4 separate regions of the Homo sapiens genome follow, and all the other regions are linked to region 1. Evidence: promoter capture Hi-C in 16 types of primary human blood cells and fetal thymus (Javierre and others, 2016). All regions are on one chromosome and are shown on one strand. Each heading gives the region's core, a stretch centred on a gene start or on the middle of the fragment in contact. The rest is flanking DNA. Distances are from core to core; before and after follow the strand shown. Region 1 holds the start of LINC02995 (long intergenic non-protein coding RNA 2995). Region 2 has its middle 8.4 kb from the start of C5orf47. Region 3 overlaps LOC105377731 (a long non-coding RNA gene). Region 4 overlaps LOC105377731 (a long non-coding RNA gene).

Evidence for each region. Contacts are between HindIII fragments. The CHiCAGO score rates a contact against its expected background, and 5 or more counts as called.
Region 2: a fragment that was not itself captured here is called in contact with the fragment with the promoter of LINC02995 in region 1 in 3 of 17 cell types (neutrophils, erythroblasts and megakaryocytes); the score reaches 7.9 in neutrophils.
Region 3: a contact is called between a fragment that was not itself captured here and the fragment with the promoter of LINC02995 in region 1, in 1 of 17 cell types (endothelial precursors). The highest score is 5.8, in endothelial precursors.
Region 4: a fragment that was not itself captured here is called in contact with the fragment with the promoter of LINC02995 in region 1 in 6 of 17 cell types (endothelial precursors, M1 macrophages, M0 macrophages and 3 more); the score reaches 15.2 in endothelial precursors.

What each region holds. Positions count from the first base shown.
Region 1 is chr5:173,578,347-173,580,905 of GRCh38, reverse strand. LINC02995 (long intergenic non-protein coding RNA 2995) reads right to left here and starts at 1,272. Exons shown (of 4, transcript NR_027108.2): 1 at 1,224-1,272; 2 at 531-677. The HindIII fragment of the contact is 2,712 bases long and covers 1-1,721 here.
Region 2 is chr5:173,979,465-173,982,023 of GRCh38, reverse strand. No RefSeq gene overlaps it. Among named protein-coding and RNA genes, the nearest start is that of C5orf47, 8.4 kb to the left of the region's middle. RefSeq lists an enhancer at 169-670. The HindIII fragment of the contact is 1,387 bases long and covers 583-1,969 here.
Region 3 is chr5:173,274,258-173,276,816 of GRCh38, reverse strand. All of the region lies in intron 2 of LOC105377731 (a long non-coding RNA gene), which reads right to left. Among named protein-coding and RNA genes, the nearest start is that of MIR12118, 28 kb to the left of the region's middle. The HindIII fragment of the contact is 796 bases long and covers 876-1,671 here.
Region 4 is chr5:173,291,887-173,294,445 of GRCh38, reverse strand. The region is part of intron 3 of LOC105377731 (a long non-coding RNA gene); the gene reads right to left. It overlaps LOC124901136 (a long non-coding RNA gene), which reads left to right. Exons shown (of 2, transcript XR_007059055.1): 1 at 1-18; 2 at 301-1,319. It also overlaps the pseudogene RNA5SP200. Among named protein-coding and RNA genes, the nearest start is that of MIR12118, 11 kb to the left of the region's middle. RefSeq lists enhancers at 431-600, 1,728-1,977. The HindIII fragment of the contact is 2,998 bases long and covers 1-2,559 here.

The sequences.
Region 1 (2,559 bases), core at 23-2,522:
CTGTGGAGTATGCACAGGTTACATTCCAATAAATACTGTTAGATTTTATTCCCAAGAGGTTGAAACTTTCCCATTCCCAGCAGTTGTGTTAGTGTGCCCATCCCCCTTGGTGCCATCGAGGGCATGCAGGCAGAAGGAACAGCCTGTGGAGAGGGGCGTGGATATGGTTTGGGGAATGGCAAGAAGTCCAGTGAGGCTGAAGGTTGGGTTGTAGTTGCTGGTTGCGAATGTAATCTATTTTATGCTCTGCAAATTTGATACACGATACCACGATATTTCATTGTAGTTTTTGTTTGCATTTCCCCAATTACCAGGAAGCAATATCATCTTTTTGTGTGTTTATGAGCCATTTGTGTTTTTTCTTCTGTAAACTTTATGTTCATATTTTTACACTTTCCCAATGGGATGTTTATCTTCTTGGTTTGTAGGTGCTCTAGTATTATGGGATGTTAGTCTTTTGTCAGTTACATTTGCACGAATATTATCTCATGGCGTGTTGCTCTTACAAACTCAAGTTTTTAGATAGTAACCTGGATTGTCAAATGCGACAAGACGGTTTCTCAGTCACAGCTGTGGAATGTGTAACGAGACAACCTCTCTGAAGGGCAGCTTGGTAATAGATACCAAATGTGCTTTAAATCGTGTACACTTGCTGATGCTGGTATTCTATATCCATCCTAAGGAAAGATCAGGGATAAAGACAGCAAGTTAGCTCTGAAGATGGTCATTCCAGTTTTGTTAATGATGTAACAATTTGAGAACCTTTACATGTCCAGTAATAGCGCATTGGAAAAATCAATTACATCTTAATCACTGGCAGGAATATAATGTTACCATGAAAAAAGATGCAATAAAACTGTGTTTTTGACTGTACTAGTAAATGAAAAAATTGATAGCATGAAAGATTTTGTCCAGTATTATTCCATTTTTGTAAAAATGTTTAAAGTTCAGGCTGATAAGATATACCCCAAAATGTTGATAATGATTTTTCTCTGCATGGAGCTATTATGGGGTAATCTTTACTGTCTTATTTTTGCTACTCTAAATTTTTTTTAAATTTCTACAAATAATATTAATTACTTTTATAATAAATATATATTTTTAAAATTATACATACATATATATATACACACACGTATGCATATATTTATACCTAATTTTTTCTTTTGACTATTGGTGGTAGACAGCTCCCAGATGATCCACAGGCCCTCAGTGAAACTTACCTCCTGTTATTCATGCTTTTGTGTCCTCTTTTCTCAAACTGAATCAGAGCTGGTCAGTGTTACCAGTAGAATACTGCAGAAGTGATGGTGTGTCACATCCAAGGCTAAGTCATAAGGGCATTGTGACTTCAACCTTTGCTCTTGGATCACTTGCCCTGGGGAAGCAGCTACCATGTTGTGAGGCTGCTCAAGTAGCCTTGTGGAGAGGTCCACCTGGAGAGAAAACAAGGCCTTTGCCGCAGCCGGCACCAACTTGCCAACCATCTGAGTCAGCCACCTTGGAAGTGGATCCTCCAGCCTCATTCCAGCCTTCAGATGACCACTGTCCCAGCTCATATCTAGACTGCAACCTCATGAGAGACCTGGAGCCAGAACACCCAGCTAAGCTGTTCCTGAATTCCCGACTCACAGAGACTGTGAAAGATAATATATGTTTGTGTCTGTTTTAAGTCACTAAGTTTTGGCTGTTGCCTAACAGTAGATAGCTGATATAAAGCTTAGTACCAGAAGTGGGGTGCTGATGGAACATAAACCTACCAATGTGGGAGCGTCTTTGGAACTGAGCAGAGGGCAGAAGCTGAAAGGACTTTGAAGAAAGTGTCAGAGAAAGCCTAAAGGGCACTGGAGAAGCCAGTAGTGGGAGGAGAATGTTGGTGAGGGTTTATAGGAAAGTGAGAACAATGCATTAGAGACTGGAAGAAAGGTGATTCTTGTTATGGAGAGGCAGAAATTAAGCAACACTGCAACAAGATGGAAAGCTCATAAATTGAATGATCTAGCTAAGGAGACTTTTAGGCAAGCCCAGATATTGGGCTCTTCCACTAAGAGTATCTTGCTACAAATATAAAAGAACCAGAAAATGCAGCCCTGCCCTTGGCCTTGGCCTCTGGGCGCCATCTCACTCAGTAGCATGAACTGTGCCCACTGGCCTCCTTGCAAGTGACTGATGCAGAAGGTGGAGAGTTGTCATGCTTGCTGGTTCCCAGGATGGTTCTCAGAAAGCTTGGAACTGAGGTGGAATCATGTTCGTGTTCCTCCCAGAGTATAGAGCAGTTAGACTCTCGGTACATTTCTGGAGAGAGATGGGGGTGAAGAGTGCTCAAGGGAAGAATTGAATCAATGCTCCCAGCACTCCACCCTGCCCATGGGAAGTCAGGTTGCACAGAGGCTAACCTGAAAACTCAGTCACAATGCTCCCTGGATCTGATCATATTTAGGGTATACTTTGGGGTGCCTGGGCCCCTCAGCAGGTGGGTCTGGACAGAGGCTGCACACTGCAGGTTCCTCCCATGTTTTTCTTCCTAAGGATGGAACCACTCACATGCATGATACTCAC
Region 2 (2,559 bases), core at 27-2,526, 400 kb before region 1:
GCTGAACTTTGTCATAATTTTGACCAAGCATGAATTTTCCAGGGCAGAATCAAGCAGGGAGGAGGAGGGCAAATGGGAAGTGCAGATGTGAGCACAGAAGCTGCAGCAAGCAGAGAAGGGCAAAGCCTCAAAGCCCTGCTTGTTTTCTTAGTGGAGAGGCTTGTAGTCTGGGGCAAGATCTCAGCCCTGCTCACTGGATGACTGGATATAAACTTTGTGTGTTGTTGGTGGGGCATGGAGGGAGTGAGACTGGCCTTGCTGGCTGCGTGGGAGCTGAGGCCTGTCATGGCCAGCTTTCCCTGACTTCCCTGGCAACCTGTATGATGCGGCAGAGGTAGCCTTAATCCCCCTGGGAACATAACTCCATTGGCCTGAGACCTACACTCAATCCCCACAGCAGCCACAGCAAGCCCCTGCCCAAGAAAAGCTTTAAGCTCAGACACACCAGCCCTGCCCCCACCTGATTGTTTTTCTCTACTCACCCTGGTAGCTGAAGACAAAAGACCTTAACTCGTGGGATCTCTTTGACCCTGCCCATCGCCTGAGAAACCCGAATACTTATCCAGGTGTTTAGGGCAAGCTTGTATTCTCCCCATACTACTACAGCTGATGCTGTCTTGAAAGTGCCACCTCCTGGCTGGTGGCCAACCAACTCATGCTGTCATGGCAACTCATAAAAACCCTTCTCCAAGAAGGGAGAAGACAACAGCTAATTCCACTGTCTGCAACATCCTGGATAACCAGAAGTCTTGAGTCTGTCCATGTGACAACTTCACTGCTAATGCAACCAGCATTCAAGAAAGCTAGCACACTAAACAAAACTACAGCTAAGGATCCTCACCAAGGACCCTCACCAGAGCAGGAGCTGGTATCCACAGCTGAGAGACTTGAAGATGGATCACATCACAGGACTCTTTGCAGACACTGAGCCTGGTAGCTCAGCTGGGTGGCTAGACCCAGAAGAGCAAAAACATTTACTGCAGTGTGGCTCTCAGAAAGCCCCATCCCTAGGGGAGAGAAGAGAATACCACATTAAGGGTCCATGGGACCAAAGAATCTGAACAGCAGCCCTTGAGCCCCATATCTTCCCTTTGACATAGTCTACTCAAGTAAGAAGGAACCAGAAAAACAATTCTGGTCATATGACAAAACAGAGTTTTTTAATGCCCCCCAAAGGTCACACTAACTCACCAGCAATGGATCCAAACCAAGAAGAAATCTCTGAATTGCCAGAAAAAGAATTCAGAAGGTCAATTACTGAGCTACTCAAGGAGGCACCAAAGAAAGGTGAAAACCAACTTAAAAAAATTCTTTAAATAATACAAGATATGGATAAAAAAATCTCCAGAGAAATAGCATAAATAAAAAACAATCACAGCTTCTGGAAATGAAAGACACAAAGAAATGCAAAATCCACTGGAAAGTCTCAACAAGAGAATCAAACAAGTAGGAGAAAGAACTTCAGAACTCGAAGATAGGGCTTTCAAATTAACCCAATCTGACAAAAACAAAGAAAAAAGAATTCTTTAAAACTGGACAAAGCCTCCAAGAAGTTTGAGCTGATGTTAAATGACCAAATCTAAGAATAATTGGTGTTCCCGAGGAAGAAGAGAAATCCAAAAGTTTGGAAAACATATTTGAGGGAATAATCAAGGAAAACTTCCCTGGCCTTGCCAGGGATCTAGACATCCAAATACAAGAAGCTCAAAGAACACTTGAGAAATTCATCGCAAAAAGATCACCTAGGCACATAATCATCAGGTTATCTAAAGTCACGATGAAGGAAATAATCTTAAGTGCTGTGAGGCAAAAAGCATCAGGTAACCTACAAAGGGAAACCTATCAGATTAACAGCAGATTTCTCAGCAGAAACCCTACAAGCTAGAAGGGATTGGGGTCCTTCCTACCTTTAGCCTCCTTAAACGAAACAAATATCAGCCAAGAATTTTGTATCCGGCAAAACTAAGCTTCATAAATGAAGGAAAGGTATTTTTCAGACAAACAAATGCAAAGAGAATTTGCCACTACCAAGCCAGCAGTACAAGAAGTACAAAAAGGAGTTCTAAATCTTGAAACAAAACCTCAAAATATGCCAAAATAGAACCTCCTTAAAGCATAAATCTCACAGGGCCTATAAACAGTAACACAAAGAAAAACCAAGGTATTCAGGCAACAACTAGCATAATGAATAGAATAGTACCTCACACCCCAATATTAACACTGAATGTAAATAGCCTAAATGCTCCAATAAAAGATACAGAATGGCAGAATGGGTAAGAATTAACCAACCAAGTATCTACTGTCTTCAAGAGACTCACCTAATACATAAGGACTCACATAAACTTAAGGTAAAGGAGTGGAAAAAGATATTCCACGCGAATGGACACCAAAAGTGAGCAGGAGTAGCTATTCTTATATTAGACAAGACAGACTTTTAAACAATTAAAAAAGACAAAGAGGGGCATTATATAATAATAAAAGGACTAGTCCAAAAGGAAAATATCACAATTTTAGATATATATGCACCTAACACTGGAGCTCCCAAATTTATAAATAATT
Region 3 (2,559 bases), core at 24-2,523, 300 kb after region 1:
ACATAGGTATACATGTGCCATGGTGGTTTGCTGCACCTGTCAACCCATCATCTAGGTTTTAAGCCCCACATGCATTAGGTATTTCTCCTAATGCTATCCCTCCCCTTGCCCCTCACCCTGACAGTCCCCCGGGTATGATGTTCTCCTGTCTGTGTCCATGTGTTCTCTTTGTTCAGCTCCCACTTATGAGTGAGAACATGCAGTGCTTGGTTTTCTGTTCCTGTGTTAGTTTGCTGAGAATGATGGCTTCCAGGTCCATCCGTGTCCCTGCAAAGGACATGAATTCATTCTTTTTTATGGCTGCATAGTATTCCATGGTGTATACATGCTGGAGAAATAGGAATGCTTTTACACTGTTGGTGGGAATGTAAATTAGTTCAACCATTGTGGAAGATGGTGTGGCAATTCCTCAAGGATCTAGAACCAGAAATATCATTTGACCCAGCAATCCCATTACTGGGTATATATCCAAAGGATTATAAAAAGAGGTGAGTTTTATGGTATGTGAATTATATCTCCTTGAAAAGGAGCACACAGAGCTTCCAATCAGCTTCTGATTTAAACATAAACCGAGAAACGAGAATCCCCATAATCTTGAAGAATACCACCATGAAAGACAGACCAAACATAAAAGACTATGAAGAAACTCAGAGCACAGAGAGATCATGTACAGCTCAGAAAAACATCGAAGAATCATAGTTAATATTCTCTGTGTGATAAGAGAAGATATTGCTCCCATGAAACAGGAGATGCATACTATAAAAAAGGAAAAGTCAAAGAACGAGAAATTGCTCTGAGTAAAAATTTTTGTTTATTGCTGAGATGAACGAATCCTTCAATAAGAGGAAGATAAAGGATATTTAAAATAAAAAGCTTAGATAAACATAAAGTTCAGTATATCCTCCTGAAATATCCCTTGCAAAATAAAGAGCCAAAAAGATGGTAATAGGTAAGGAAAGATTGAAAAGAAATTAGAGAAGCAATTTGAGAAGCCTCACATGAAAATCTAAGTAATAGGAATTCCAGAAAATGACATCAGATAAAATGGTGAAATGGAAATTATCACAAAAAAATTCAAGAAAAGTTTACAGAATTGCAAAGCATGCATCTCCAGATTTTAAAAGCCTTCAAAGCCTCCAACATAACAAATGATAACAATAACTATGCAAAGGAACATAATTCTGAAATTTCAGAACAGCAAAGATAAAGAAAAGATACTGAACACATCCACAGAGAAAAAAAAAAAAAGCCAGTCCAGATACAGTGGCTAATGCCTATAATCCCAGCACTTTGGGAGGCCAAGGTGGGAGGATCATTTGGGCTCACCAGTTCAAGACCAGCCTAGGCAACAAAGTGAGACACCATCTATACAAAAAAATAAAAATAATAAGAATTAGCCATGCATAGTGGCATGCACCTGTATCCCAGCTACTGAGGAGGCTGAGGCAAAAGGATTGCCTGAGCCTAGGAGTTAAAGGCTGCAGTGAGCCATGTTCACACCACTGTACTCCAGCCTGGGCCAAAGAGAAAGACCCAGTTTCAAAAAAAAAAAAGAAAGAAAGAAAGAAAAGAAAAGAAAAACAGCCAAGTTACATACAAAAATATCAAGAAATAAAATAGTAACAGACTTCTCAACAGCTAGAGAAAAATAGGGAACTTACTTCAAAAGCTTAGGAAAAATGAATTTCAACATCTATATCCAGCCAGATTATAAATCAAGCGAAAAGACAAAATTAAGACATTGTAAGCATGCAAGATCTCAAGAATTCACCACTTGCACACCCTTCCTGAGAAAATTACTGAAGGACAGTATCCAGGAAAACAAAGAAGGCAGAGAATCAGGAGAAGAAGGAACCAACAGAAGAGAAAAGTAAACAGATTTCCCAGGAAATGGGTGAATGAAAATACCAGGATAAGCAGAAAGCTTATAGATCAGGAAGAGCAGGCTCTTCAAGAAAAAGACTGAACTGATGCATTATCTGATGGTTTGACCATAGAGAAAATGATATGGAGTGGCTAGCAGAGCTGTTGAAGAGCAAGTCAGATATTCAAAGAAAACCAAGCACATAGAAAAATTGTACAAGAAAGGAAACTTAATCACAGTAGACTATCAGGTTCAATGGTGAATACTGTTGAACCATGTTTTTACAATGCCATAATAATGTAAATACTGTATAAACATTTTATAAAATAATAAGTTCTATTGGAAGAAAAAGGAAAGAGAAAATATGCATGGAATAAAATCTTCATTTGCATAATTGAAGGTCAAACAATAATGGTCACAATTGATAAATCAAGAGATAGCTTAATATACATGTTACTTGGAAATATTGAAGCAAATACCCGAATAAATAGCAAATAGGCTAAAAGATGTTGTTTCTGGGAGTGGGGATGAGGATTAGTTGGGTGGCTGGAAGTGATAGGGCAAGATTCTTTTTTTCCACCCTGTCTCCCAGGCTGGAGTGTGATATCTGCTCACTGCAACCTCTGCCCCCTGGGCTCAGGCAATCCTCCAGCCTCAGACTCTCCTGAGTAGCTGGTACTACGGGCACACCACCA
Region 4 (2,559 bases), core at 40-2,539, 290 kb after region 1:
GCCACAATCGCATCACCGGTAAGTGCCTGAACCTCATCCAAACCTGATCCCTGTGGCCCCAGAACTCACAGGAAAACCTCCTCTCATAGGAGGTTTTTAATGACACTGTGTTCATTGGCTCCTTGCTGCTGTATCTTTCTCCCCCAGTGTGTGTCTACTTCTGCCGGGCTCTCGCCCTCCCTCCTCACTCTGCATGGTGCACACACCCTTAGTGGCTGTGCATTTTCAGCTTGCTTCCTTCTTTTCTCTAAAAATCTCCGCTTTGCTCTCCCTTTATTTCGCCTTTCACGCACTGAGCAGCGATTCGTTTCCTATTCCACATCGCCACCTGGCGGCCATGGAGAGAGAACACCGCGCGTTTTTTATCAAGCGGGCAAAGGCAGGGGAATCCTCACGCCAAACGGGTTTGAAGACCTCTTCACACGGACGGCCAGGTCTCTACGGGACTCGCCCTTACACTAACTCCACTACAGCCCGCTCTGTCGGTGGAGGAAATAGACGTGGAAGGCTTCCCTTCATCACCTGGTGGCTGCCGGGCCACATCCTGTACAAGCCGGGGCCAGCTCTAAGTCTACCCCAAAGCCTCAGCGTGCCTCTTCCCTCTAACTCAGGCGAAAGTACCTTCAAGACAGTCCTGGACGCGGTGGCTTCACGCCTGTAATACCAGCACTTTGGGAGGCCAAGGCAAGAGGATCACTGGATCACTTGAGCCCAGAAGTTTGAGACTAGCCTGGACAACATAGTGAAACCCCTGTCTTTACAAAAATTGATTAATTAATTAATTGTTTAAAAGAGACTATTCCTCATTCTTTTGACATCATTTTAAATGAGAATGCAGAATATGACATTGTACATACTGATATTTGATTCCTTTTATATAACCTTTCATGTATTAAAAAACTGCACTGAAAATCTAGAATTAAGTTAAAATTGGTGTGGGTTATTTGTGAATGGTGGGATTTTTTAAATGTATTCCAACACCCATATATTCCAACTTTTCCACACTTCCAAAGTCTGGAATACTTTGAGGATGGGGAGGAAAGATATGTTTACGGTCCTTGGGAAACTGAAAAGCATTTCCTGTGATGTCCCAGGGAGCTGGGGCACAGGAGCCAGCCTTGAAGTGGAAACCCCAGGCCATCCACTCACAATCTGAGTATCCTTGGGTGAGTGATCTCTCTAACCTCCCATCGAGTCCCCTGTAAACTAGAAATAATTATAGCTGCCCACATCACTGTCTTACTATAAGAGTAAAATGAGATAATGTATTTTAAAACATTGGTATAGTGTGAGTATTCAATAAATATTCTTTGAGTGAATTTAGTGCATTGTTTTGTTTTGTTTTTTTGAGATGGAGTCTCACTCTCACCCAGGCTAGAGTGCAATGGCTCGATCTCAGCTCACTGCAACCTCCGCCTCCCAGGTTCAAGCGATTCTCCTGCCTCAGCCTCCCGAGTAGCTGGGATTACAGGCGCCTGCCACCACGCCTGGCTAATTTTTGTATTTTTAGTAGAGACAGGGTTTCACTATGCTGGCCAGGCTGGTCTCGAACTCCTGACCTCAGGTGATTCGCCCGCCTTGGCCTCACAAAGTGCTGGGATCACAGGCATGAGCCACCGCGCCTGGCCGAATTTAGTGTTTTATATACTTTGGATTGATCAGTTTAATGCAAGTGACAGAAATCCAACTCAATCCAGTTAAAAAAAAAAAAAAGGAAAGATAGAATATATTGAGTTATTAAACTGAAAACTAAAAAGATTAGGGTTTCAGGCACAGCTACATCAGTGTGCTCAAATGGTGCCATTAGAAATCTGCTTTCTCTGTCTACAGCCACACCGCCCTGGACATGCCTGGTCTTGCCTGATCTCAGGAGCTAAACAGGGTCAGGCCTGGTTAGTATGAGAAAGGGAGAAATCTGCTTTGTCTGTCTCTTGGTTCTTCTTTCCTCTGTACTGACTCAAATCTCAGGCAGTCTCTTTCAACACAATGGCAAGATGGCCCCCCACCAGGCTGCAGCTGACATCTCAGCTTCTCAGGGCCTTAGTAGGAAGAGAGCTTCTCTTTCCCAATAATTCCAACAAAATTCCTCAATGCTAATCCAAACACTAAGGCAATGCAGCCTGACCATCAGGCCTGGGAAGTCACTAGCACTCCTGCAGGAAAGGGGGTCAGGACCTGCCCTGCCCAAACCACATGATTACTTGGGGTGTTTTCCCAAAGGAAACTGGAGATGTCCTCAAAGTGCACATTAATCAAATTCAGCACAAAGCCTGTCATAAACGCAGGGTTACACTGCCCTTAAGATTAAAATGCTGATGATTAGCTTAAATACCTGTGGAAAGAGCCACAGGGCAGTGGGAGTCCAAAACGCGGATTCCACTCACAGCTATATCACTGTGTGACCTTGAATAAGCAGCGTGGCCTACCCAGGTCTCAGTTTCTCCATCTGTCCAATCAGGGGTTGGACTAGAATCCGGGCTCACATCCCTCCAGGGCTATGCAGTTAGGAAATGAGCGCAGTGGCCAGGTCAGCACAGCAGGAAGTGGCGGGGCCCTAGG